7 separate regions of the Homo sapiens genome follow, and regions 2, 3, 4, 5, 6 and 7 are each linked to region 1. Evidence: promoter capture Hi-C in human tissues and cell types (Jung and others, 2019). All regions are on one chromosome and are shown on one strand. The core of a region is centred on a gene start or on the middle of the fragment in contact, and the rest is flanking DNA. Distances in the headings are between cores, read along the strand shown.

Region 1 (3,461 bases), core at 296-2,795:
AAAATTAGCCGGGCGTGGTGGTACATGCCTGTAATCCCAGCTACTCCGGAGGCTGAGGCAGGAGAATTGCTGCCAGGAGGCGGCAACTGGACCTGGGAGGCAGAGGTTGCAGTGAGCCGAGATTGCACCACTGCACTCCAGCCTGGGCGACAGAGCGACTCCGTCTCAAGAAAAAAAAAAAGTATACAGAGTAAATGTAACTTTTTACTTTTAGTCTAGGACTGAACAATACTAAGTTTTAAAAAATCTATAATATGTCATTTTTGTACATTATATTTTGGAAATGTACAAAATATTAGGAAAAGTGGTAATTTTGGCAAATGTAGGAGGCAGTACATCTTACAGTTAAAGAGGTCAAGAGAGCAACCACTTCGCAGTCAGAGAAACCAAGCCTCACCCCAGTTCCAATACCTCTTCAATGTGTCATCTTAGGAAAGTTACTCAATCACTATTGAGCCCCGTGACATCTCACATGTGAGGTACAGTGTTAAGCAGCATTTTATGGGCATTATTTACTAAAATTGTTATAAGATCCAAGTTATCATTCCCATCTCAAAGATGAAGAAACCAGGACTCAAAGCAATAAAGTGACCTGCTCAGTGCTGTGAAGCTAAGAAGTGGTGGGGCCCAGGAATGACTGATCAGCAGGACCCCGGGACCCCGCAAAGGCCTCTTGATGTCACTAAACCCAGCAAAAAACATCTAGTTCCAAAACGGGTCATTTTTCAGTGCTCCATTGTCTCCCTGAGTTTCCTCACCTGTAAAACGGGTGTAAGTGCTCAGAATCCCTATAAGAACCAAATGAGGTTGTAACATTTCCCACAATGCCTGGAATGTAGGAATTATTCTGCATCCCTAAGTTGCCACTTAAGAGATAAAAGAAATCAGCAAAAGGCTTTCAAAAATAAATGGTCCTTTGAAGTATGAAAATTCAAATCCAGGAAACTCACCAAGCATGGCCAAGGTGCGCATGATCATATACAGTTGGTCCACAGCTATACCTGGAAACAAAGTTAAAATCCATCGTGTGGAACATATTTGCAAGAAAGGACATTCGATTCTGAGTTATAATGATCATATAATTTTTAAAGTAATCACTTCTGGGGGATGAATAGCCGGGGTTTTCATACTTGCTCAATTCACACCCAAACCTGCAAAAGCACCGCGCACCCCCAGCTTCTAGAACGGCGCCCTCCATGCAGCTTCCTAAACGCCCTCCCCGAGCCCAGATCCCGTTCAGCCGTGGGAAGTCTCCGCCACGATCGGCCCCCGCCCGTGCCCCAGTCCCGCGCGGCCCACCAGGAGGCGGCTTCGGCGTGCGCCACGATTAGGGGTTCCTTCCTCCCGGTGAGGCTGTTGTACACCTGCACACCCGTCTCCCGGCCCGTGGGCTGCAGCCAGGCCCGCCCGCGCCCCCCGCTCGCCGCCCGGCCCGCAGGCCAGTGCCACCCAGCCCGCCCAAGGCCCAGCGCGGCCTGGAGCAGCGGGGGGCCCAGGCCTGGGCCGCGCGTAGTCCTCAACATGTCAGCGGCCAGCGCCTACGACTGGGCGGAGACGGGAGCCACGCCGGGTACGCTGCCGGTCGCTCAAGAGCAGCACGGCCCCGCCCCGCCCCGCCCACGCCCTTGGGGCCACGCCCACTCCCGGAAGCAGTCCTCAGGTAGCGCCTCCCTTTGGCCTGGCTCGAGTCGCCCGCGGCAAGGGTGGAGAACCAGGGCCCGAAGAGGTTGGGGCGGGGAAGGCCCGGGGTGGAGGGAGGAGGGCGGTGCCGCGCCGGGAGGCCGTGGGAAGAGGCGGTACCGTGCCGATCTCCTCTCCTTATTAGCCCAGGTCCTGCGAGGCGTCCGTGTGCGCGCGGTACCAGCCTGGAGCTGTGTCCGCCGCGCGGGAGGAGCGTTTACAGTGCAAGCTTCTGTTGCCGGGCCCTGGCCTGTTAGCGAAGCACGTGTGCATCCCAGCACAGCCCACGTCAGCACGCTAATACACAGTGTCCACCCCAGAACACACGTCAGCACCCCAATACAGTGTGCACCCCAATACAGTGTGCACCCCAAACACACATCTGCGCCCCAATACAGTGTGCACTGCAGCACACCGTTAGCATCCCAACACAGTGCACCCCGATACACAATGTGCAACCCAACACACAGTCTGCACCCCAAGAAGTGTGCACCCCAATACACAGTATGCACCCCAGCACACACATCAGCATCCCAATACAGTGTGCACCCCAATACAGTGTGCACCCCAGCACACACATCTGCACCCCAATAGTGTGCACTGCAGCACACCATCAGCATCCCAACACAGTGCACCCCGATACACAGTGTGCAACCCAGCATACAGTCTGCACCCCAATACACAGTATGCACCCTAGCACACACCACATCAGCATCCCAATACAGTGTGCACTCCAATACAGTGTGCACCCCAGCACACACCATGTCTGCACCCCAGTACAGTGTACACCCCAATACAGTGTGCACCCCTAATACACTGTGCACTCTAACACACACCATGTCTGCACCCCAGTACAGTGTGCACCCCAACACAGCACATGTGCATCCCAGCAAACACTGTCTGCATTCCAATGCAATGTGCACCTCAATAGAGTGTGCGCCCCCACACATCTACACCCCAATACAGTGTGCACCCCAATACACAGTGTGCAACCCAACACACACCATGTCTGCACTCCAATACACAGCATGCCTCCCCCACCATGATCCCGTATCTTGAGAACAAAAACATTCTGAAAGTTACTCACAATAGCTTGACAAACGTGCCTCTATTGGGCCAGGCGCAGTGGCTCACACCTGTAATCCCAGCACTTTGGGAGGCTGAGGCGGATGGATCACCTGAGGTCAGGAGTTCGAGACCAGCCTGACCAATATGGTGAAACCCCGTCTCTACTAAAAATACACAAATTAGCCGGGCGTGGTGGCGTGCATCTGTAGTCCCAGCTACTGGGGAGGCTGAGACAAGAGAATCGCTTGAACCCAGGAGGCAGAGCTCACAGTGAGCTGAGGTCACACCACTGCACTGCAGCCTGGGCAACAGAGGGAGACTCCGCCTGAAAAAAAAAAAAAGTGCCTCTATTGGTGTCTTGCAATACGATGTCTCAAAAAAAAGAAAAAGTCCCCTTTGCTTTTCCAGTTCTCAAAACAGGAGACGTTCCTCTGGTTTTTTGTTGTTGTTTTTAGTTTGCTTTGGTGTTTTATTAAAAAGCAAAGGTTTAAGTAGAGACAAACAAGTGTGTACCTAGAGTAGTTTCTCAATATCCTGGAGTCCAACTCTGCAATTCTGTTTCAAGCTAACTGTAGTCTAATGTAATCTATTGTCTAATTTAATAAGGTTAAAATGTTAGAATTAGGAGACCCTATAGCCTACATCAATGCTAACCACTCATGTTACCTAACTACTCTAAATTCTCCTGAATATTATCACTTCTTGCCTGCCTT
Region 2 (3,461 bases), core at 278-2,777, 500 kb after region 1:
AGAGCGAGACTCCATCTAAAAAAAAAAAAAAAGAAAAAGAAAAAAAAAGAAAATCACTTATCTAAAGTTATGGATGACATTGAAAAGGACATACATTTAGAGTGGATCACTGGAATTTAATACAAGAAATACTGCAACAGGTGATGTACAGAAGTGGCATATTCATGTGTCCTGACCACATGGGGGAATCTGCCTGCAAACTCATATTCATCCATGCCTCAGAGTTTTGAATTATTTTTTATGGAGGCAGGGTCTTGCTCTGTCGTCCACGCTGGAACACAGTGGTGTGATCTCAGCTCACTGAAGCCTCAGCCTCCTGGGCTCAGGCAGTCCTCCCACCTCGGCCTCCTCAGCAGCTGGGTCTGCAGGTGTGTGCCTCTGTGCCTGGCTAATTTTTGCATATTTGTAGAGATGGGGTTTCGCTGTGCTGCCCAGGCTTGTCTTAAACTCCTGAGCTCAAGCTATCTGCCTGCCTTGGCCTCCCGAAGTGCTGAGATTACAGGCTTATGCCACCATGCCTGTCCTAAATGATGTGCCTTATAATTAACGTAGATCTCTGTGGCAGATGGGGCAATAGCACAGATATGTAAAATCTACAAGTAATCCTTAATTTGACTCTGCTCCCATTGAATACTTTTTTAGAGGTTGCTCACAGGAGCAGAAGATAGTAACTTTGAATTTCATTGTAGATGTTTTCTCTGCTTTTGCTGTAAGTGGGGGTGCTAATTAGGACGAAGTGGCTTTAGAACATGGCTTTAATTTGTACACTCAGTCTTGGGATTGTCAACCATCTAGGTTTGAGACGGTAGGATTTACAAGTAAATAAGAGAAGTCAGAATCCAGTAGCTCTCAGGCTATTAGTTTTTACCTCTACCTTATGGAAATGTATTTTGTATATGTTCTTGGTATCATTGGCTATGTGTTGGATGTAAAATAGATAGCTTTGTTCTTTACAAAGACAAATTTGGAAGTTACCACATAAACTTGGTACTTTTAAGCTTTTAAACTATAGGAATGACCCCTCCTAGATGGAAGGAATGCTTTGCTTTTCTGTTTGCCCTTTGTTTTTGTTTTTGAAGTCAGTGGGAAGGCAATACCCGTACGTTTTCTTTTTGAGACAGAGTTTCGTTCTTGTTGCCCAGGCTGGAGTGCAATGGCATGATCTTGGCTCACCGCAACCTCCGCCTCCTGGATTCAAGCGATTCTCCTGCCTCGGCCTCCCGAGTAGCTGGGATTACAGACACGTGGCACCACACCCGGCTAATTTTGTATTTTTAGTAGAGGCGGGGTTTCTCCATGTTGGTCAGGCTGGTCTGGAACTCCCAGCCTCAGGTGATCCACCAGCCTCTGCCTCCCTAAGTGTTAGGATTACAGGCATGAGCCACTGCGCCTGGCCTCGTTTCTTTCTAGATTTCAGCTTTCCTTGATTGGCAAACAGTAAGACAACTGCAGCAGCCACAGTTACTGTGGACATTCTTGGGAAAATTGTCATTGTCTTTCTGCTTCTGTCTCTTAAAATCATATGTGTTCTCAAGGCATTTAGTTGACTGTAACTGGCCTTTTAATTGGATAGAAGAAAGCTTGGTGATGGGGAAGTACAGAATGTCTTCAGGATGGCCCTCCTTGTATGAGAATTTCCTGGAAGGCTGTGGCCAGCAGAGCACTGCAGACCATGGCCGGGAGCCCTGTAGAATTTGCTGGAAATGCCCTTTTAGCTGGTTTTGTGCTGCGGGTTGCCTGAGACCCCTGTGTTCTCAAGCAGAATGTGCTCTATAGAGATTACTCGTAACCTGCCCTCAGCAGGTCCTGGGAAGTGTAGGGTGAGGGGGTGACCTGAGAAGAATTTAAGATCGTTGGAGTAGCAAGCCCCCATCTGTGGGGTCAGGCAGGTGGCGTGAAGGGAGGAGCTGGATGGAAGGGCATGGGTGCTGGGTCCTCTCAGGACAGCCCCTGCCCAGCTCTGAGCCAGCTTTACCTGATGGGATATAGACCTGGTGTGGCCACATCCTAAATGTGTCAAGAGCAGTGGGGAATCTGGGTTTTTGGTGATACCTTCAGACTTTTCGATGTTGACCGTTTAATTCAGAATTTTATAAGATACGTGCAAGCCAATCCAAACACCTGGGAGGAAGCTGGGACCTGGAGACTTAGGGTTGCTTTCATGGAAGCCTCCCTGGAGTTTAGGACATGGCCGGGCACGTGCCTCTCAGAACAGCGATTTTCCCAGCAAAGTTTTTCACAGCCTCATTCTCTCTTTTTTTTAATTGAGTCACTTTTAAGAATAAATTGCTATTATTTATTTGTTGGATGGCCTGTGTGGAGTGTCTTATGAAGGGAGATCCAGAGAACAGAACTAAGCCTCTTACTGTCTGTTTACTTTGATTCTGTCAGCAACTTCATGAGGTGAGTAGAGCCTGTGCTGCCTTAGTGTTGGGGAAATAATCCTCACAAGGTTCTCTCTGGCTGAAAAATACACTGGATTTTCTCTTTTAAATAAGAGTCTTTTCCTTCTGTTGCTTATTGCATGACACATCGTCCTGGAAAAGTGGGCATGTGGTGGTGATGCTTTGGAGAATCAGTACTTGGTTGTTCTCCGCTCCATAATCAAATTTGAGAGGCTTTTTTTTCCAGGTGAAGGGAAAATCTTTAAAAGTTATAATACATTTCACAAACTTTTGAAAATTATATTAGAGAAGAACTGATTAATAGTTATCTCCAGATAATTTCTGGAAAGGTAGTTGGGGAATGAATGCAAGTCATTTATGTAGCAAATAATTTGTTCTTTGTTTTCTGCATAAATGGGCTGCTTTGTTGTGGTCTTTTGGTGTGTCCCTCTGTGCTGCCCTAGTTTTAAAGTCTAGTGTGTAGTGTGGGTGCGTGGTATCAGGCGCTCTCAGCTCTCTTTTTCTGTGTGCATGCTCTTTGCAGACATCGGGCTGGGGAGTGACTCCGTGTGTGCCCGGCCCTCGTCTCACCGCATAAAGTCTTTTGACTCCCTTGGATCACAGTCTTTGCACACTCGGACTTCAAAACTGTTCCAGGGCCAGTATCGGAGTTTGGTAAGTTTGAGAGATTTTGTTACTTAAATATGTTTGGGAAGGATATGAGTGTGTATGGATATATCTGAGAAGATACGTATGCCTCCATTAATGGTGTTAAACAGGGCAAAGGTAGCTGGACTTCGCCTCCGTTGTGCCTGTAATCTGGTTTGGCATTTGCTCATTACCAGATGATCCAGATATTATGCTTAATGATTGCTTTTGAGAAACTCATTTGTTTTTAGGTTGTATTGCAAGACTCATGACTCGATATCTGGAGTGATGCTGCTTTAAAAAAACACACCCCTTGTCATTTGCATGGCATTATCAGCTATGCACATGTACAGAAATATTGAGAATAAGAAATATGTATGGAAAAGTACTCAGCTCCGTAAAGAAGAGATGGTTAAAACTAAAGAATCT
Region 3 (3,461 bases), core at 518-3,017, 490 kb before region 1:
TCATAAAAGAAGTAGAGCACGTTTTCTATACATACGGGAAGTCCTGGGTTTCCAGGGTAGCCAGATGCTCCCGGAGGTCCCTGTGAGGGCGGAAGTAAAAGCGTGTCAGTGAAGAGCCGGGAAGCCTCACTTCCTCCTCCTGCATCTCCCCGGTTAATGGAGTCATGCCCTCATTTTTGGTGTCAGAACACACACAAAGCAGACAGAGCACTCTGCACAAGAGGCAGCAGAGGGCACAGCCTAGGGCAGATGGCCCAGGCTTACAGGAGCAATGCTACACCCAAAGCACACTACTGCCATTCGCCACTGCAAAGATATGGAACCAACCTAAGTACCTACCAACCAACGAGTGGATAGAGAAAAGGTGGAATCCATGCACCATGGAACACTACTCAGCCACAACAAGGAACAAAATGATGTCTTTTGCAGCAACTTGAATGGAGCTAGAGGCCATTATTCTAAGTGAAGTAACCCAGGAATGGGAAACCAAATACCGTATGTTCTCACGTATAAGTGGCGTCTAAGCTATGAGGATGTAAAGGCATAAGAGTGATACAATGGACTTCGGGACTCAGGTGGGGGGAAGGCTGGAAGGAGGTGAGGGATCAAAAACTACGTAACAGGTAGAGCGTACACTGCTTGGGTGACAGGTGCACTAAAATCTCAGAAATCACCACGAAAGAACTTATACATGCAACCAAACACCACCTGTACCAAAAAAAATTGAAATAAAAAAAAACAAAAAAATAAGTTTTTAAAAGCTGACTGCTGATCCCTTCAAACATAAGGCTGCCCATGCACAAAATAACTCTGCTCCCATTTCATCATTACTAAGAGGTGGAGAGGAGGAAGAGCAAGGCTGGCTCTGAAAATACCATGACTTTTCCATTAAATGAAGTCATCTCTGTCTAATGACTGTGGACACATCATCAATTGCCCCTTCCCCCAAATTAAAAAATGCCCAGAAGAGATTCCTGAAGAAGAACAAATGGGGGAAAGCAAGTTTGCAGAACCAAGGACTAAGGAGCTCAGCCTGTGCACAGTCCCCATGGGAAGGACTGGGGCTCAGGGAGTCACGGGCTGCTCCTCACTGCCTGCCTCGCGCCTGCCTGCCCGTGCTGTGTGAGCTGGGAGAGGAGATGGAGGACGAGGGCAAGGAGAAAGGAGGGAAAAGGTGCCCGGCTCTGGAAGCGGGCCTGTCCCACGCATGGAATCATCGATTGTGAGTAGCAACTGTACTCACTCTTGTCCCTTTTGTTCCAGGTAGTCCTGGTTCTCCAGTATCACCCTGGAACAGAATAGAAATGCCATTGTCATTGATCACCGCTATCTCAAGAATGCGGGCAATCTTACATCCACCCACCCCCAATCCCACAGCCGTGCTTACCTTTTGTCCTGGTGGTCCCTGTGGCCCCTCAGGTCCTTGCATTCCAGGAAACCCAATGACACCTTGTAACCCCGGGAGGCCTCTTTCACCCTACAGAAGAGGAACATCAGTCAGGCAAAAGGCAGCAGTAAAGAACAGAGGAAGGAATTGGTGACCAACTGTGATGGCTATATATATATTTTTTTTGAGATGGAGTCTCATTCTGTTGCCCAGGCTGGAGTGCATGCACGATCTCGGCTCACTGCAAAGTCCACTGCCTGAGTCAAGGGATTCTCCTGCCTCAGCCTCCCGGGTAGCTGGGATTACAGGCGTGCGCCACCACGCTGGCTAATTTTTGTATTTTTAGTAGAGGCAGGGTTTCACCATGTTGGCCAGGCTGGTCTCGAACTTCTGATCTCAGGTGATCCACCCACCTCGGCCACCAAAAGTGCTGGGATTACAGGCATGGGCTACCACGCCTGGCCCGTGATGCCTAATTTTAGGTGCCAAGTTGACTGGGTCACAGGATAATCAGAGAGCTGGTAAAGCATGACTTCTGGATGTGTTTTTGAGGGTGTGTTTCTGGAAGAGATGGGCATTTGAATACATGGACAGTAAGGAAGATCTGCCCTCACCCAGGGTGAGCAGGTGTCATTGTTAGTTGAGGCCCGGATAGAACAAAAAGGCAGAAGAGAGGCCAATTCTCTCTCTTCTGGAGCTGGGCACCCATCTTCTCCTGCCCTTGGACATCAGAACTCTGGGTTCTCTGGCCTTCAGATTCAGGGACTTGTACCACTAGCCCCTTGGGCTCTCCAGCCGCTGGCCTTGGACCCAGTTACACTTCAGGAGTCCTGAGTTCCCAGGCTTGCAGGCGGCAGATCATGGAACTCCTCAGCCTCTATAATCCTATGAGCCACTTCCCATAATAAATCTAAGCAGCATCCAGCCTTGCGCAAGTCCACAGTGAGTGTCTGGAAACAGATAGCAACGACTACTTCAGGTGGTTTTGCTCTACTGTGTTTTAAACTCTTGAGGGCAGGAAATATTTATATCTCATTCCTAGCACAATCCTTTATATGTACTTAATGCCAAATAATTTCTTGGGTAAATAGAGTAACAAATAGCGAGGTGTTTTTCACTGAACTGGTTATAATTTCGCTCAATCAATGGAACTCTCTTGTTAGCAACAGCCTCAGTGCTGAGATTCTGTGATGGAGCCTCCAAGACGTCTTCCTCTTTAGAGACCATTAGGAGATGTGGGTGGGCAGAGTCCACAGTGTGCACCTCATGCAAGATGCTTAGCCTCCCTTGGGCCATCATGGGGTGATGGTGGGCTTTAATGAGAAATGTCTTTCAAGAGTATTTTTTGGGCTGGGTGCGGTGGCTCGCTCATGCCTGTAATCCCAGCACTTTGGGAGATAGAGGCGGGCAGATCACCAGAGGTCAGGAGTTCGAGACCAGCCTGGCCAACATGGCAAAACTCTTTCTCTACTAAAAAATGCAAAAATTAGTTGGGTGTAGTGGTGCACGCCTGTAATCTCAGTTACTCAGGAGGCTGAGGCTGGAGAGTCACTTGAACCTGGGAGGCAGAGGTTGCAGAGAGCCAAGATCATGCCACTGCACTCTAGCCTGGGAGACAGAGTGAGACTCTGTCTCAAAAAAAAAAAAAAAACAACAACCCATAACCATTGTAAGAAATCAAGAAAACCTATTTACTTTACAGCATGTGGACTTCAGTGCAGCCTTACCATACGAATTGGGTAGATTCAGTAACCATTGTTAGCTGATTTAAAAACATAAGGCAGACAGTTTGGAGATCACAGGCAGGATTACTTAGTGTTCAGTGCCTTTCTCAAAGTTGCATTAGTTGAAAGTAAAAATCAACCGACAAGCTACACACCACATAACATAAACATCCAAAGTCGTCCTTCTTTCCAAACCACTCAGCCAGTCCTGGCACTTAACTGGTGAATTAACTGCCTGCTCCATTTTTACAAACGCAGGAAGGACGTTATGAACCTGGGACTCAGCCGCCACACCTCCATAGAGCTGTGTTTCGTTGAAAGGATATGTCAGGAGTCTAGACACAGTATGT
Region 4 (3,461 bases), core at 496-2,995, 480 kb after region 1:
CCTCCTCTCTCACATTCTGAGGCTGACGTTTGTTTTATAGGCAGCATCCAGGGCTTTTAGCTGCATTCAGCTGGAGGGAGGGGGAGATGTGTCTTCTCCATCTTTTTGGGAGTCATAGGTCAGTTCTCTTTGTGCTATGCTGTTATTTCCTATCAGGTGTGGCCTTGATGGGTTCTTCCTGTTTGTGAATAAAAGCCCAGTTGACTGGCATCAGAGCGGAGGGGACTGTGCAGTCCTGTGTGTGGGTTACCGGCCCCGTGGGCTTCACTGTGCGGGTTGTGTGTCTGGGAGCAGGTGGGGAGAACCGGATGGAGGGCTCTAGAAGCAGCTACACGAGCAGAGCTGAGGGAGACACTTTCTCTGCACCTGTTTCCTGTGTCACACTTCAGATGGGGGATAGTCCAGGCTGGTGGTGGAGCTCCCAGGGGATTTCGCTTCTGGGTAGAATTGTCATTTTTTTTTTTCCTCAGAGACTGTTGTGTGGGCCTAGTGGTGCATCAGGTTCCGGTTAGAATCCAGTGCAGGCCGCAGGCTTCTCTTTAATTAGAGAGGGTCACTTCACCTCCGGTTAGAATCCAGTGCAGGCAGCAGCTTCTTTTTAATTAGAGAGGGGTCTGGGTGCTGAGCTTCCCATCAGGAAGAAGGGGCTGTCGTGCTGAAGTCCTGAGGTGGGTCACGTGTCCCTTCCTGTGTTAGAAAACCGTCTTTGGTGCTCCTGGGGCTCCCTTACAAGTGCTGTTCTGAACTGTTAGGTCATTCAGAGTCCATCTGCGTCCTGTCCCCAGGGATCTCCTCAAACCCTGTTTAGACTGCTCATAGCCTTTCCCTTTTTAGCACTACAGCGGGTTCTTTCTCTGTTAATTTTTTGAAGCTTTTTCTTTCTCTCATTTCGGTGGCACCTTGGGAGGGATGGGAGTTAGATAGGTGTTTGCAGTGGGCCATCTTGAGAAACTTCTCAAAACTGGAGTCTTGTAACTGCTTGCATTTTGAAGTTAATGGAATGGGCGCATTGCCTTTATAGCTGTAAATGTTACTGCTTCACTTACTGTTAGCCCAAGCCAGTGTGTTGCATCTGCCCAGATCCTTCTTTGTGGTATGTGCTCACTTTCTGGCGACAGCCAGGCTGTTCTTTGCAGGCATGTGCTCCTAGCAGTCGAAGACAGAAGTTTGGGGGCCTGTGTAGGCTGTATGGGCTGCTGTGTGTGTGTACGTGGTGAGTTGTGTCTGAGACCACCCCTCCTCCCCTGGGTGCTGCCTGATCTGCCTGCATGACCGCTGTGGGACACCACTGTCTCTGGTGTCCTTTCCTGGCTGGCAGTGTGGTGGTGTGGGCAAAGCCAGGCTGGTGGGCTCCGATCTTGGTTCTGCCTTTGTAAGCTTTGTCACACTGTCTTTTGGGAGCTCGTGTGTGTGTGTGTGTGTGTGTGTGTGTGTGTGTGTGTGTGTGTTTTCGTTTTCTGCCTGTAAGATAAACTGGCATGCAGTCTACACTGAGGTACGGGCTGTGTGGGCCAGCACAGCATGCCGTGGTCCTAAGCAGGGAGGTGTCCTTCCTTTCCCCTGCCTGTTGGGGCTGCGCTTCCCTGCCTCGTGTGGAGGTTGCGCCCGGTCTGCAGAAGGCAGAGAGCATCTTGTTGGGAAGAGCCCTGCCTGCCTTCCCGTTGCTGTGCTCCTGCCTCCCTGCTCTGCTCCTCTCACCCCTTCCTGGAAACTACCTAAAATACTTGGTTACTTCTTTTTTGAAGATGTATTCTCTGTCCTAGTGTTTGGGTGTTGATACAGTGGAATCCACAAAATTGAATAAGATTTGATTTTCATTTTAAAGTGAAATAAATCATTTGGGTGCATGTTGGGTGAAAGTGCCGTAATTGATAGCATCCGTCATCAGACTTTAATTTTACCCCTGGGGTGTAGGAGTGGGTGGGATTAAGTACAAAATCTGCAGAAGCCAGGAAGTGAAAACGTACTGCTGGATTTCTGTTTTTCACATGTCCCCAACAATATGGACCATTTGCATTAAACTTAAATAGCACCACTTATTTAAGATTCATTTTTTACTCTTGTTCTGAAATCACAAGTTCCATTTGACAGTGATAGGACAAAATTATATTTTTAAACTTTGCAAACCACACTCCAGAGCTGTGCTAAAAATAACAATTTCTTGTGTCAAGAATAACTTTCTCAAGTTCCTGGAGGAGGCGAGCTGACTGGTGGCAACGCAGACCACTAAAGCTTCAGTGAGCCCAGAAAGTGTGCGCTCAGTCCCACATTGCAGAGGCCTCTCCGTCAGTATTGAGATGGTGGAAAGTGAGGAGAAGCAAAAAGACGACTACTTCTTTCCCCATTTCCCGGTCTGGTCTTTTTGGGGTCTACTACGTAGAGGTGCATCAGCCAGCGCTACCATGGAGGCAGGAGGCATTCTTTTGCTCTCGTGTCAGTACTGACGGGGTTGATTAAGGTTGCTGTGCTTGTTGGTGTGGGTATTGGGAGGGTGGTGTGAAAGCAGTTGGGCTGGAATAGAGCTGGTCAGTGTGTCCTTTTGCGTGCATTTGTGTGGCCCTAGTGCTACAGTGGTGTCCCTTAGCTCTGGGGGACTGTCTGAATTTTTGTGCTCTAAATTATTAATACATGTTTATGTGTGGGTTTGCCAGAATGCTGTGTCCGTTATTGTTGGCTCCTTGGACAGCTCTCCTTGTTCTGCTTCACTGGCTGTGAAATTGGTTCACGTGGTGGGCTCTGGGTCCAGCGAGATGCATCTGAGGTGTTGACCTGGTGGTGTGGGCCTGGGGCTGCCAGTGGTCCTGTTGCCTGATGAGGGAGACCGTTCCTGAAACTGTGGCGCACACTCAGGAGAGTAGGAAAGAGAGCGGAGAAAGCCTTCCGGTTCTGAGCTTGTGGCTCTTGCCATTCCTGACTTGTTTGTTGTGCGAACCAATAATTTCCTTTTTTTGTTTAAGCCAATTTGAGTTGGGTTTACTTGCTTGTAGTGGAAAGGTTCTGACACAGGATCTTTATTATATGAAGTATTTTCATAATGTACATTGTGTTATATATTAGACATATCACACGATCTATTTTGTGATGTAGTTTGCTTTGCTGTTTTTATTCTGTGGAAGATATTCCTGAATTTCTACACTTCCTATGAATTTGGAAGTGGGGTGAGGCAAAGTCACTAATATCGGGGTATCAGTAGGGGAGCCTTTCGAATCCCAAACATTGGAGTGTCCTTCTGTGACCCGTTTCTTTGTCAACTTTTGTCCGCTAGGCAGAGTGGCTGTGACATCTGACATCCAGTGTGAAGGTGTGGTCACTCAGCTGGAAGAGAAAAACCTAGCACTCTGAGAGTGGGTGGATCTGCTGGTGATTTTCAAGCAATGTCTTCCCGTTTTTGGATGCTCATCCCTTCTGTAGTTGGAGCCTTGTTCTCTTTTCCTTGAGTACAGGTGGGGCTGATGACTCAT
Region 5 (3,461 bases), core at 649-3,148, 460 kb before region 1:
TATTGTGGACAGAATGTAAAGAGGTATGAGATGAATAATCGGGTTAATAAGCTTTATTAGAGGCTCTGCTTTAAGTCTGATATAAAATGTTTACTTATATTCTACTTCAGGTGATTATCATTTCCTGAAAATAAAATCATGCCACTAATAGTATTGTGATCATGCAAAGTGTATATTTTTAACAACATATTCCAGCCTCAGCTGCATTGCCATGGAGACGCCTGCATAAAACAATCACATCTGGAGATATTTATTTTGTAAAGCTAAATCTGAACAAGTGCCTCCAAGACAGTAAGCTGTTCTCAATTTTATATTTTGGAAATGGGGACAGCTGACAACAGTCCAAAAAAACTCCAGAGATGATAGGTCTGTGTTTTTCTCTGACTCACATTTTAGGCAATTTTCAGCCTACACTCTCATAACCTCCTAACATTTTAAATCAATCCATGTGCACAGATTTGCTTCATAATCTGGGTTTTGGTGACCACTCAGAGGCATCCAAAGAGATGAGGCCAAAATCTGTAACCTGTGCTCCAGGAGGTTCTTCCAAAATGGACAAATACCAGTACTGAGAGACCTCACCAGAGGTACCTAACTCAGCCAGTACTACCATGTGTCTAATCCCCAGGTGAGGGTCACCTGCTCCCTACCTGGCTCCTGCGAATTGCTGACTGCATGTCTCTATTGTCAGGCTTATCACGTTTCTCGTTGTTTACTTCTGTGTCTCCCCGGTACACCCTGAGTGCTTTGGAGGCAGCCTCACATACAGCTCACACCAGGCTCCCGTAGCATTGAGCCTGATGTGAGCTGTACTTCATCTAAGACGACACCAATTGTAAAACCCATACTAAGAAATCAAGAAGGGTACTAATTAAACAATGACACATTATCAATTGTTAGATCTATCCCAATTCCAGAGTTGTTAAAACATCAATAAATGCACATCTTAGAATTGATGAAATCAGTACCCAATTATGGTTGTATTCTTGGTGCTGTTACTGGTGTTACCCATCTAAGCAACCTTAAGTAACAACTGTAGATGGAAATCCAGTGGCACCGCGCACCTCAACCACAGTGCATTCGTGCACAACAGCACTGTGGGACAAAGCTCCAAACAGGGAACTCGGCAATGATTACCTGACTGCTCCAGATCACAGAGTAGCCAGGGAAGAGCCGGGGACTCTGGGGAGTGCGCTGGCATCTGGCACCTGACACCTGGAGCCGTCCAGACCAGCTATTCCATCACCAGGTCATCTCCAAGTCCCTGGAGTTTCGGGGCAGCCTCTTTGCTGGGATTATGCCACTGCCCACAACCTGTTTGCGTTTGAGCCAAGTTTGGAAACACATCTCTGTTCTTTAAACTCTGCAGTGTTTCATCCCCCTCCTACAGATACCAAAAGGAAAACCCACCAGGCTAAGTCTCATGTATCTGCAGAGTCCATTTAGGAAATGTCCAGCAGTCATCTGGGCTTAGCTGGCAGAAACTCAACACCAGCCTGAAGTAGTGTGGATTTTCGACTTGTGAGTCAATTGCTGCTTTCTGGGAAAGAGCAGATTAAGCAGGGATTTAAGGGATTGAAGCTGAAAATGGCTATTTGGTGATCTGGAGTTTTCTGAAAGGTTGATAAAATCTCAGAAGCTTTATCTTTCTGCAATTTGAGGGAGGTTATAAAAATGAATTTCCTGGAACTGGGCCCTTAAGCCATCCGTGAATGCTTCCATTGCCTGGGACTGCAGATAAGAGGCTGCAAGGCTGTGACTGTGGACCCTCGGGTCAAGACGCTTCTTGTGCTTTTGGTACAGAAACACCCCCAGCCGGTGCCGGTGACAGGCGGGTGGGTAGTTTTACCCTGGGGACCACTTCAGGTACTAAGGAACACTGGGGAAAATCAGAGATGAGACAGGACTGACCCCCGACCCCGGCCTTCCCCCACCACCTTACGCTTTTTCATAAGCAAGTAATTTTTTTTAATCCTGGACCAAAAACATGCATGGCTTTATGTGTGTAGGGAATTTGATTATCAATTCTAAAAAATTGATCATTCCAAAAATATCTAAATTAGGGTTAGCTTTTCAGAACAAAAGATGTCTAAGATCATGATTTTTGTGTCACATTCTGGGTGGCCTAGCATTTTATGTAAATGGTTTTGTTAAAAAAAAAAAACAAAAAAGCTAGCCTTTAGAATGACAAGAATGACAAACAAATATCCTAAGATGTATGTTTACTTTGTTAAATAAAATCTATTTTAAAATATCACTATTCTGGTCCTTTCTGTCATATAAGGGCCCGTGCTGGGTTTCACCCTGGCATATGAAGGTATTTTAGCTGCAGTTCAATGGTTCACTGCTAAAAAGAAAAAAAAAATACAAAGGATGACCTGAGTACCCCCTTCACTCAGGTGTAATGTATAAGCTTCAAATGGTGAATTAAAATAAAAGTCAGGTAATGCAAGTCTTAATTCACTGTTGTAAATTACTGTGTTTAAAAGGGGTACATAAATAATGCAGGTTACCCAGGTTCACAATTTCATTGGTGACCTGACATGTGAAAAGCTATGTCACCATTTCATCATTTCCTGAGGAAATACACCTTGCATCTGGACTCCCAGAAAAATCTAAAGCTATATGCAGACTGGTGGACTCCACCGGCTCCCTGCTGGCTGCATATCTGAGGGCCTTTATGAGGGCTCTGCATTCTCCCGGTGTCTGGATGACCCTACAGATAAGCTCCCATACCATCTGTTTCAGATTCTAGAATGGGAAGAACTGGTACATTCTGTGCGGTACTCATCCTCTTCCTGGTTTTCCCCTCATTGGTGTTCTAGGGTCAATGAGTTCCAAGTTCCTGGAGCAATGCCTGTGTTGTGCTCCTGTGAGGCACACACTTAACCCGAGTGGTCATGAGGATGAAAGTGGGTCACGAAGGCAGTCTCCACTTGGAAGACGGGGAATATGGCTGGGAGTTCTCAAAGGAAAGAAAGGCGGGGGTCTCGGTCTCTCTTATAAAAGCAGACCAGCCATGGACAACAGCAACACAGGTACCCCAGACCAATGTGGAAAAAGAGGACCCTAGAAAGCTCTTGGGGTTGGGGGTGAATTTATTATTTATACTCCTAAAACTGTAGACAAACTTAATGAAAACCAAGTCAGTTTTGAAAGTCCTTTTAGCCTCTTCCCCATAGACCATGTGGCCTACAGAGTATAATAAGTTGTCTCCAAATGGAAGCCAAACTGACTTAACTGTGTTTGAAACAGAAAAGAAAATAATAATAATAGTCCCCAGTGGACTCTGTCAGACACACACACGCACACATAACTTCAATAGCAGAGATCAGCTTTAAACGAAAACAAAAAATACAATATGAAAGGAATGCAAAAGGTACTACAAAGTAATCCCTAAACCAAATATCTTTTATATTCTCTAAAAGTCTCTTAAACTTTTCAGGATATGTTAAAATAAT
Region 6 (3,461 bases), core at 1-2,500, 450 kb after region 1:
TTGGTATCCACCGGGATCCTGGAACCAATTCCCTGCTGATAAAAAGGGACAACTGTATATGAAAGCATCTTTGTAGAACCTGTTATGTAGGATAACCCAACAGAGGTTTCCCTTCCCGAAGAATATTTTGCTATAGGTTTCTCGGAAAACCTAGAACATCAAATCTGTGAGGGCAGGTTACATGGAAAGTTTATTTAATTGAATTAGACATGTAGGAATTCATAGATTAAAGTATTACTGGCGTTGTTTATGATTGTAAACACAAAGAAATTTATTGTTGGTAGTATTTCATGTTGGCAAGGAAATTATTACACGTAAGTGAAAGTGCTAGGGGAGATTCCAAGAAACTTAGGGCCTTTTCAAAGGGGAAAAAGACAGTGTTTCAGTAGTCTTTCCCTGATACCCTTTGTCGTATCAGCTTTGTCATTTGTAATCCAGCTGCCTTATTGGCTGTGATAATATGCCTTGCTAGTGGCAGGTTTTACTTTTTCTTCACCTTTGTGAGGGATTTTATTATATTATCCTCTTGAAACTACTGAGTTTTGTTTACGTTAACATACTTTTGAAACTCAATTGGCACATTAAGATTATCTGACTTTAGTGTAAAACTTTTTAAAAAAGTTTTGTTTTAAAGTAAATTGAGGCTGGGTGTGGTGGCTCACGCCTGTAATCCCAGCACTTTGGGAGGCCGAGGCGGGTGGATCACATGAGGTCGGGAGTTCGAGACCAGCCTGGCCAACATGGTGAAACCCTGTCTATACTTAAACAAACCCAAAAACAAAAATTAGCCCGGCGTGGTGGCGTGCACCTGTAGTTCCAGTTACTCAGGTGGCTGAGACAGGAGAATCCCTTGAACCCCGGAGGCAGAGGTTGCAGTGAGCTGAGATTGCCACTGCACTCCAGCCTGGGTGACAGAGCAAGACTCCCTCAAAAAAAAAAAAAAAAAAAAAAGTAAATTGAATGTTAAAAACTTACCGTTTTTAGTTTTCCAAAGGTTGCTGACATTTCATACAGTAACTATTGTTTTTATAATTAAGAGTTTATTTGAAGGTTTTCTGGAAGAGAGTTTTCACTAACATATTCCAAGCATCTACAATAGTGCTTGGCACATAATAGGCTTTCAATAAATATTTGTTACTAATAGAATGAACTTGAGGTTGTAAGTGATAGCAAGTGAGTTTCATTTTAAAGTAAAAAATTAGTTTTGACTTATTTTGTGCTATTTTTAAAGAGTAAATATCTCTTCCAGTAAATTTAAGCAAGAGGCAAATGTTAGCATTCTTCAAGCTTAGTGTGAGTCACACTTGTAATTACCTAGGAGATAATAAAAATGAAAATATGAAAACAGCACATGAAAAACCTGATAAATTGTTCAGTCATTGTGTTTTTTGGGAAGTTACCCTGAGAAGTCATTTTGTATGCTATGCATCCAGCTCTGGCTTCCAGCCTTGTAAGGTGATGTGAAGGGACAGGGCTGGGCCCTGAAGGACTTGGTCATCTCCCATGCGGGCCACAGTGCAGCAATTTCCCAGTGTTTAAGAATTGCTTAGGGAGTCAGGAGGGAAGGGCCTTGCACTTGTGAAATATGTTGTGGGATTTACACATTTCATTTTCACAAAATTCTGAAAGGTGGGAAATTGATAAGAAATGTTTTGAAACTACAGACACAAAACTTAAAACTAATAGCTTAAATTCTAGATTAGCTTTTGTTCTATAGTTGTAAATGTCAAGGTGCTTTTCTTCCAGGGGTTAGTTTAGACTGAATTGTGTTTGTAACAGATTGTTTTTGGTGTATATATTCTTATTTACTGTCAGTTTAAGCTCTGCTAAGATTTGTTAAAGGGAAAAAGGAAGTAAACTTGGTTAATATGTCAGCTGTTTTGGTGCATGCCCTCCTTAATTACCTGTAGAAAATCAGATATTATCCCCCAATTGTTTTGATTATGAAAATATTTTTATAAATTGGTTTTAAAGGAATATTGTGTGAGTCGCATTTATTGGTAAACTTTGAGAAGCACTGGGTTTTAAGCTGGAAAACTTTGAAATTTGGAAAATTAAAAAAATTTAATTACTGTTGGAAAGCAGTGCAACTTGGATGACTTCATTTTCTTATAACTTTTTTACTTGGCATGCTTAAATTTTTTTTTTTTTTCCAGTTAGGGCAAAAAACCCCTAGGCACACAATTTCTATTTGTATCTCAAAAGCAACCAAAATAATAATTATTAATAAGAATAATGATGATGTTGGCTGGGTGCAGTGGCTCATGCCTGTAATCCTAGCGCTTTGGGAGGCTGAGGCGGGTAGATCACCTTAGGTCAGGAGTTTGAGACCAGCATGACCAACATGGTGAAACCCCATCTCTACTAATCACGCCACTGCCCTCCAGCCTGGACAACAGAGCAAAACTCCGTCTCAAAAAAAGAAAAAAAAAATGATGATGATGATGATGTTTGTAGAATTTCACTTGAGGATAAGTAACTTACTGAGGCAAACCAAGCAAGTGATAGGACATTTCTTTGCATTTTCTTAGGTAAACAGCTACAGAGAAATTCAGAGTGATTTCTGTTTCCAGTATTTTGCTATGTTACTGTGGAATTCTGATTCAAGTGTTGTAGCTACTGTAGGATGTGTATGTGTGCATGTGTGTGTGTGCACATGCTTGTTCACTGAAAAGGTCACAATGAATTAGCTTCCAAGATGTTCCCACCCTATGCAACATTGTCTGATTAGGCATCTGACAACTAGGGAAGCAGGTGAAATGTAACTGGCAAAAGCAGATTTTATGTTCCTAGGAGAAAGCTTGTTTGGTTAAAGCCATCACGCCTGTAACATGTTTACCAGTTTTTTATTTCAAGAGCTGAAAGTTAAGGATATAAGATTCCAGTTAATTGATACATTATTAAGCTCACATTAATAACGTGGTTTCAGGAATATTAGCAACAAAATTATTATAATAAAGCTATGGATTTTAACTTAGTTCTGTTTGAAAGAAAGATGTCTACTGTTCTTGATACTTAGCTATATTCATACATAATAGAAAAGGGTAATCTTGATGGATAGTTTGATATTAATGAGGCTTTTTTGCTTAAGAATTGACTGTGGGCTCACATACAGTGTTACCATCACTACTTGAAAGGAAAACAAAACATTTCAGATGAAACTGGGTGAGCCTGTTCTCATAGTTGCCAAGAGGGAATAAAGCCAATTTGTCAAGTGTAAGGAAACCACAGCTCTTTCTTGTCATAGACCATTTCTGGAATAGTTATGTTTGATATGATAGGGATGGTAACCCTAATATATTAATAATTGATCTTTCCAGCTCCTTGGCACTGCAACTAATACTAAAATTATCTGCAGGTTTCACAGTTGCTGTTCATTTATTTAACTGTTTTTCTGGAAAAGTGGAAAGCATCCAAAGGCCCAGGTGGTTCAGAACAGAAATCTGCTCTTTTCTCATCCT
Region 7 (3,461 bases), core at 428-2,927, 370 kb after region 1:
CGCTTTCTGGAACCAAAATAAAAAATGAATTGTTCCTATTGTTTTAAAGTTAGTTGTAATGAAGAATTCATTTAATTTTGTTGTGGTAAAATATCCATAATCTGAAATTTACCGCTTAACCATTCTTAGGTGCACAGTTCAGTGGCATTAAGTGCATTTACATTGTTTCTTGTGCAACCATCACTATACTGTCTTCCTTCTCCAGAACTTTTTCTTCTTCCCAGACTAAAACCCTGTCCTCATTCAACACTGACTCCCCCTCCCCCATCTCCCCAACTCCTGGCAGCCCCCATTCTACTTTCTGTCTCTGTGACTTTGAGTCCTCTATGGACCTCATCTGTCTGGAGTCATACAGTATTTGTCCTTTTGTGGCTGGTGTATTTCACTTAGCGTAACATCCTCAAGTTTCATCTGTGCTATGGCACATGTCAGAGCATCTTTGCTTGTTGAGGATGGATAACACCCCATTGTTATCCATGGGGTGGATGACATGAAGGGCCCACATTTTGTTTATTCATTCCTCTGTTGGTGGACATGGGTGGCTTCCACCTCTTGGCTATTTTGAATAATGCTCCTAGGAACATGGGTGTACTGATCTTTTTGAGTCTGCTTTCAGTTTTCTTGGGCATTTAGCCAACAGCAGAATTGCTGAATCCTATGATAATTCTAGGTTTAATTTTTTCAGGAGCTGCTATACTATCTTCCACAGTGGTGAAAAATTCTCCTTGTGTCACTGGGACCTTTCCTTTGCCATGGCTTGTGTACATTCTCAAGTAGCTTTCAGAGTTATTTCAAAAGAAGTCGGGACCAGCGATGCCAGCATGGCTGAGCTTTTCACAAGTTTTACACCTAGAAATGGGTGGTACAGCAAGGTCCAAGGCAAAAAGATGGCTCCTCTGACCTCTAGGACACCCCACACCCCACTCTTTGATCCAGAGGTGTTGGAGCCTGTGAGGAAGGATGAGGTGGCAAGGTGAGAATTGAAAAGCGTGATAGCAGAGATGGGGAGTTCTGCAGAGGTGAACAAAGAATTCAGGAGATTCTGCAGAGGCAAAGAAAGAATCAGCAAACATGAAGATAGGGCCATAGGAGTGACCAAAAGCAAGGCACAAACAGGAACAGGGATTTTTAAAACAAGCACACAAAAAACCCAGAGCATGTAAGAGCTTTGGGAAATTATCGGACATGCTAACAGATGTGTAACTGGAATCCCAGAAGAAAAGAAAATCAGCAGAAGAAATATTTGAAGATATTGGGGGAACCTGCTCCCCATATTTCAACATAGGTTCTTTTTATTTCCCATAAGTGTCAGCCGGCTGAGAAATAAAGAGAAAGAGTACAAAGAGAGGAATTTTACAGCTGGGCCGCCAGGGGGTGACATCACATGTTGGTAGGACCGTGATGCCTGCCTGAGTCTCAGACCAGCAAGTTTTTATTTAGGGTTTCAAAAGGGGAGGAGGTGTAAAACAGAGAGTAGGTACAAAGATCACATGCTTCAAAGGGCAAAAAGCAGAACAAAGATCACATGCTTCTGAGGGAACAGGACAAAAGGCAAAACAGAACTACTGATAAGGATCTATGTTCAGCTGTGCACGTATTGTCTTGATAAACATCTTAAACAACAGAAAACAGGGTTCAAGAGCAGAGAACCAGTCTGACCACAAATTTACCAGGGTGGAGTTTTTCCCCACCCTAATAAGCCTGAGGGTACTGCAGGAGACCAGGGCGTATTTCAGTCCTTATCTCAACTGCATAAGACAGACACTCTCAGAGCGGCCGTTTATAGACCTCCCCCAGGAATGCATTCCTTTCCCAGGGTATTAATATTAATATTCCTGGCGAGGAAAAGAATTTAGCGGTATCTTCCCTACTTGCATGTCTGTTTATAGGCTCTCTGCAAGAAGAAAAATATGGCTCTTTTTGCCCAACCCCGCAGGCAGTCAGACCTTATGGTTGTCTTCCCTTGTTCCCTAAAAATCACTGTTATTCTGTTCTTTTTCAACGTGCACTGATTTCATATTGTTTAAACACACATGTTTTACAATCAATTTGTACAGTTAACACAATTATCACAGTGGTTCTGAGGTGACATACATCCTCAGCTTATGAAGAAAACAGGATTAAGAGATTAAAAGACAGGTATAAGAAATTATAAAAGTATTATTTGGGAACTGATAAATGCCCATATTAAAATGAAATCTTCACAATTTATGTTCCTCTGCCATGGCTCCAGCCGGTCCCTCTGTTCGGGATCCCTGACTTCCCACAACATGAAGAGTTAATGTCCAAGAATATTTAAAATTCATGGAAGACACCAAACCACAATCCAGAGAACACCCAGGAGGACAACCACTGCTAATAATACTAATAACCACAACAATAATAAACACTGGCTAGACCAAGCATAGTACAACTGCTGCTGGAAAAACAGAGAAAACAGGCACTGCAAACAGAGGAACAAAAAGAAAATCACAAACTTTGAATTAGAAACCATCCAAGACAGAAGATAATACAGCGACATTTTAAAGTATTTAAAACAACATGCCTTTAAAGCTAGAATTCTATTTCAGCAAAAATAATCTTTCAAAAATGAAAGGCAAATAGGAGACTTCAACTTCTGACCAAGATGAACTAACAAGAGCAAGATTAACCATCCCATGAGGAAAAAAAACCCAAAAGGAAAAACCAAAACATATGAAACATTTTCAAGATAGTGAGCATCAGGCAAGAAGGCCAGGGACCCAGAGAAATGGGCAACCAGAATTCGAAGCAAAGCAAACCCTAGAGATGTGAAGAGGGCCACACTTCCAAGCACATGTGGAACATTTTAAAAAACAATTCTGCAGTGTGGTGGCTCACGCCTGTAATCCCAGTACTTTGGGAGGCTGAGGCAGGTGAATCATGAGGTCAGGAGTTTGAAACCAGCCTGGCCAACATGGTGAAACCCCGTCTCTACTAAAAATAAAAAAAAATTAGCTAGGCATAGTGGCAGGTGCCTGTAATCCCAGTTATTCAGGAGGCTGAGGCAGGAGAATCACTTGAACCCAGGAGGTGGAGGTTGCAGTGAGCCAAGATTGTGCTACTGTACTCCATCCAGTTGACAGAGTGAGACTCCGTCTCAAAAAAAAAAAAAAAAAAAAAACCATTCTCCACTGGGCCATAAAGGAAGTCTCAGCAAATTCCAATGACTAATATCATACAGACCACATTCTCTGTCCACAATTCAATTAAGTTAGAATTTTTTAAAAAAAGAGATGTATTTTGAAACTGAAACACAATATAGAAGAACTCTTGAGTTGAATTAACAATCATCATGAAAATTTAAGAATATTTAGAACTTACTGTGTATGCATTCCTAAAAAATATAGCTTAATTTTGCCTAAAGAAACTTGCCTAATTTTATATAAATGTAATCATATTGAACTTATTATGTCTTGCTTATTTTGGCCAACATGTTTATA

What was found. The method cuts DNA at HindIII sites, captures the fragments that hold promoters and counts their contacts. A contact is called where the count stands out against the background at its distance.
Region 2: a fragment that was not itself captured here is called in contact with the fragment with the promoter of CARS2 in region 1 in 1 of the 25 tissues and cell types used here (dorsolateral prefrontal cortex).
Region 3: a fragment that was not itself captured here is called in contact with the fragment with the promoter of CARS2 in region 1 in 1 of the 25 tissues and cell types used here (bladder).
Region 4: a contact is called between a fragment that was not itself captured here and the fragment with the promoter of CARS2 in region 1, in 1 of the 25 tissues and cell types used here (IMR-90 fibroblasts).
Region 5: a fragment that was not itself captured here is called in contact with the fragment with the promoter of CARS2 in region 1 in 1 of the 25 tissues and cell types used here (H1 embryonic stem cells).
Region 6: a contact is called between a fragment that was not itself captured here and the fragment with the promoter of CARS2 in region 1, in 1 of the 25 tissues and cell types used here (spleen).
Region 7: a contact is called between a fragment that was not itself captured here and the fragment with the promoter of CARS2 in region 1, in 1 of the 25 tissues and cell types used here (heart left ventricle).

Annotation. Positions count from the first base shown.
Region 1 is chr13:110,704,571-110,708,031 of GRCh38, forward strand. CARS2 (cysteinyl-tRNA synthetase 2, mitochondrial) reads right to left here and starts at 1,546. Exons shown (of 15, transcript NM_024537.4): 1 at 1,300-1,546; 2 at 951-1,001. The coding sequence starts at 1,523. RefSeq lists a silencer at 1,354-1,913 and enhancers at 1,964-2,343, 2,354-2,473. The HindIII fragment of the contact is 14,015 bases long and covers 1-3,461 here.
Region 2 is chr13:111,206,944-111,210,404 of GRCh38, forward strand. It overlaps ARHGEF7 (Rho guanine nucleotide exchange factor 7), which reads left to right. Exons shown (of 22, transcript NM_001354046.2): 4 at 2,929-3,059. Among named protein-coding and RNA genes, the nearest start is that of ARHGEF7-AS1, 60 kb to the left of the region's middle. The HindIII fragment of the contact is 3,516 bases long and covers 1-3,285 here.
Region 3 is chr13:110,212,539-110,215,999 of GRCh38, forward strand. COL4A1 (collagen type IV alpha 1 chain) reads right to left here. Exons shown (of 52, transcript NM_001845.6): 3 at 1,388-1,477; 4 at 1,244-1,288; 5 at 36-80. Among named protein-coding and RNA genes, the nearest start is that of LINC03082, 85 kb to the left of the region's middle. The HindIII fragment of the contact is 5,934 bases long and covers 1-3,461 here.
Region 4 is chr13:111,184,558-111,188,018 of GRCh38, forward strand. The region is part of intron 2 of ARHGEF7 (Rho guanine nucleotide exchange factor 7); the gene reads left to right. Among named protein-coding and RNA genes, the nearest start is that of ARHGEF7-AS1, 38 kb to the left of the region's middle. RefSeq lists enhancers at 183-312, 413-672. The HindIII fragment of the contact is 3,787 bases long and covers 1-3,461 here.
Region 5 is chr13:110,243,993-110,247,453 of GRCh38, forward strand. All of the region lies in intron 1 of COL4A1 (collagen type IV alpha 1 chain), which reads right to left. Among named protein-coding and RNA genes, the nearest start is that of COL4A1, 61 kb to the right of the region's middle. The HindIII fragment of the contact is 4,468 bases long and covers 1-3,461 here.
Region 6 is chr13:111,155,152-111,158,612 of GRCh38, forward strand. All of the region lies in intron 2 of ARHGEF7 (Rho guanine nucleotide exchange factor 7), which reads left to right. Among named protein-coding and RNA genes, the nearest start is that of ARHGEF7-AS1, 8.3 kb to the left of the region's middle. The HindIII fragment of the contact is 3,840 bases long and covers 1-3,170 here.
Region 7 is chr13:111,069,912-111,073,372 of GRCh38, forward strand. No RefSeq gene overlaps it. Among named protein-coding and RNA genes, the nearest start is that of LINC00368, 24 kb to the right of the region's middle. The HindIII fragment of the contact is 8,666 bases long and covers 1-3,461 here.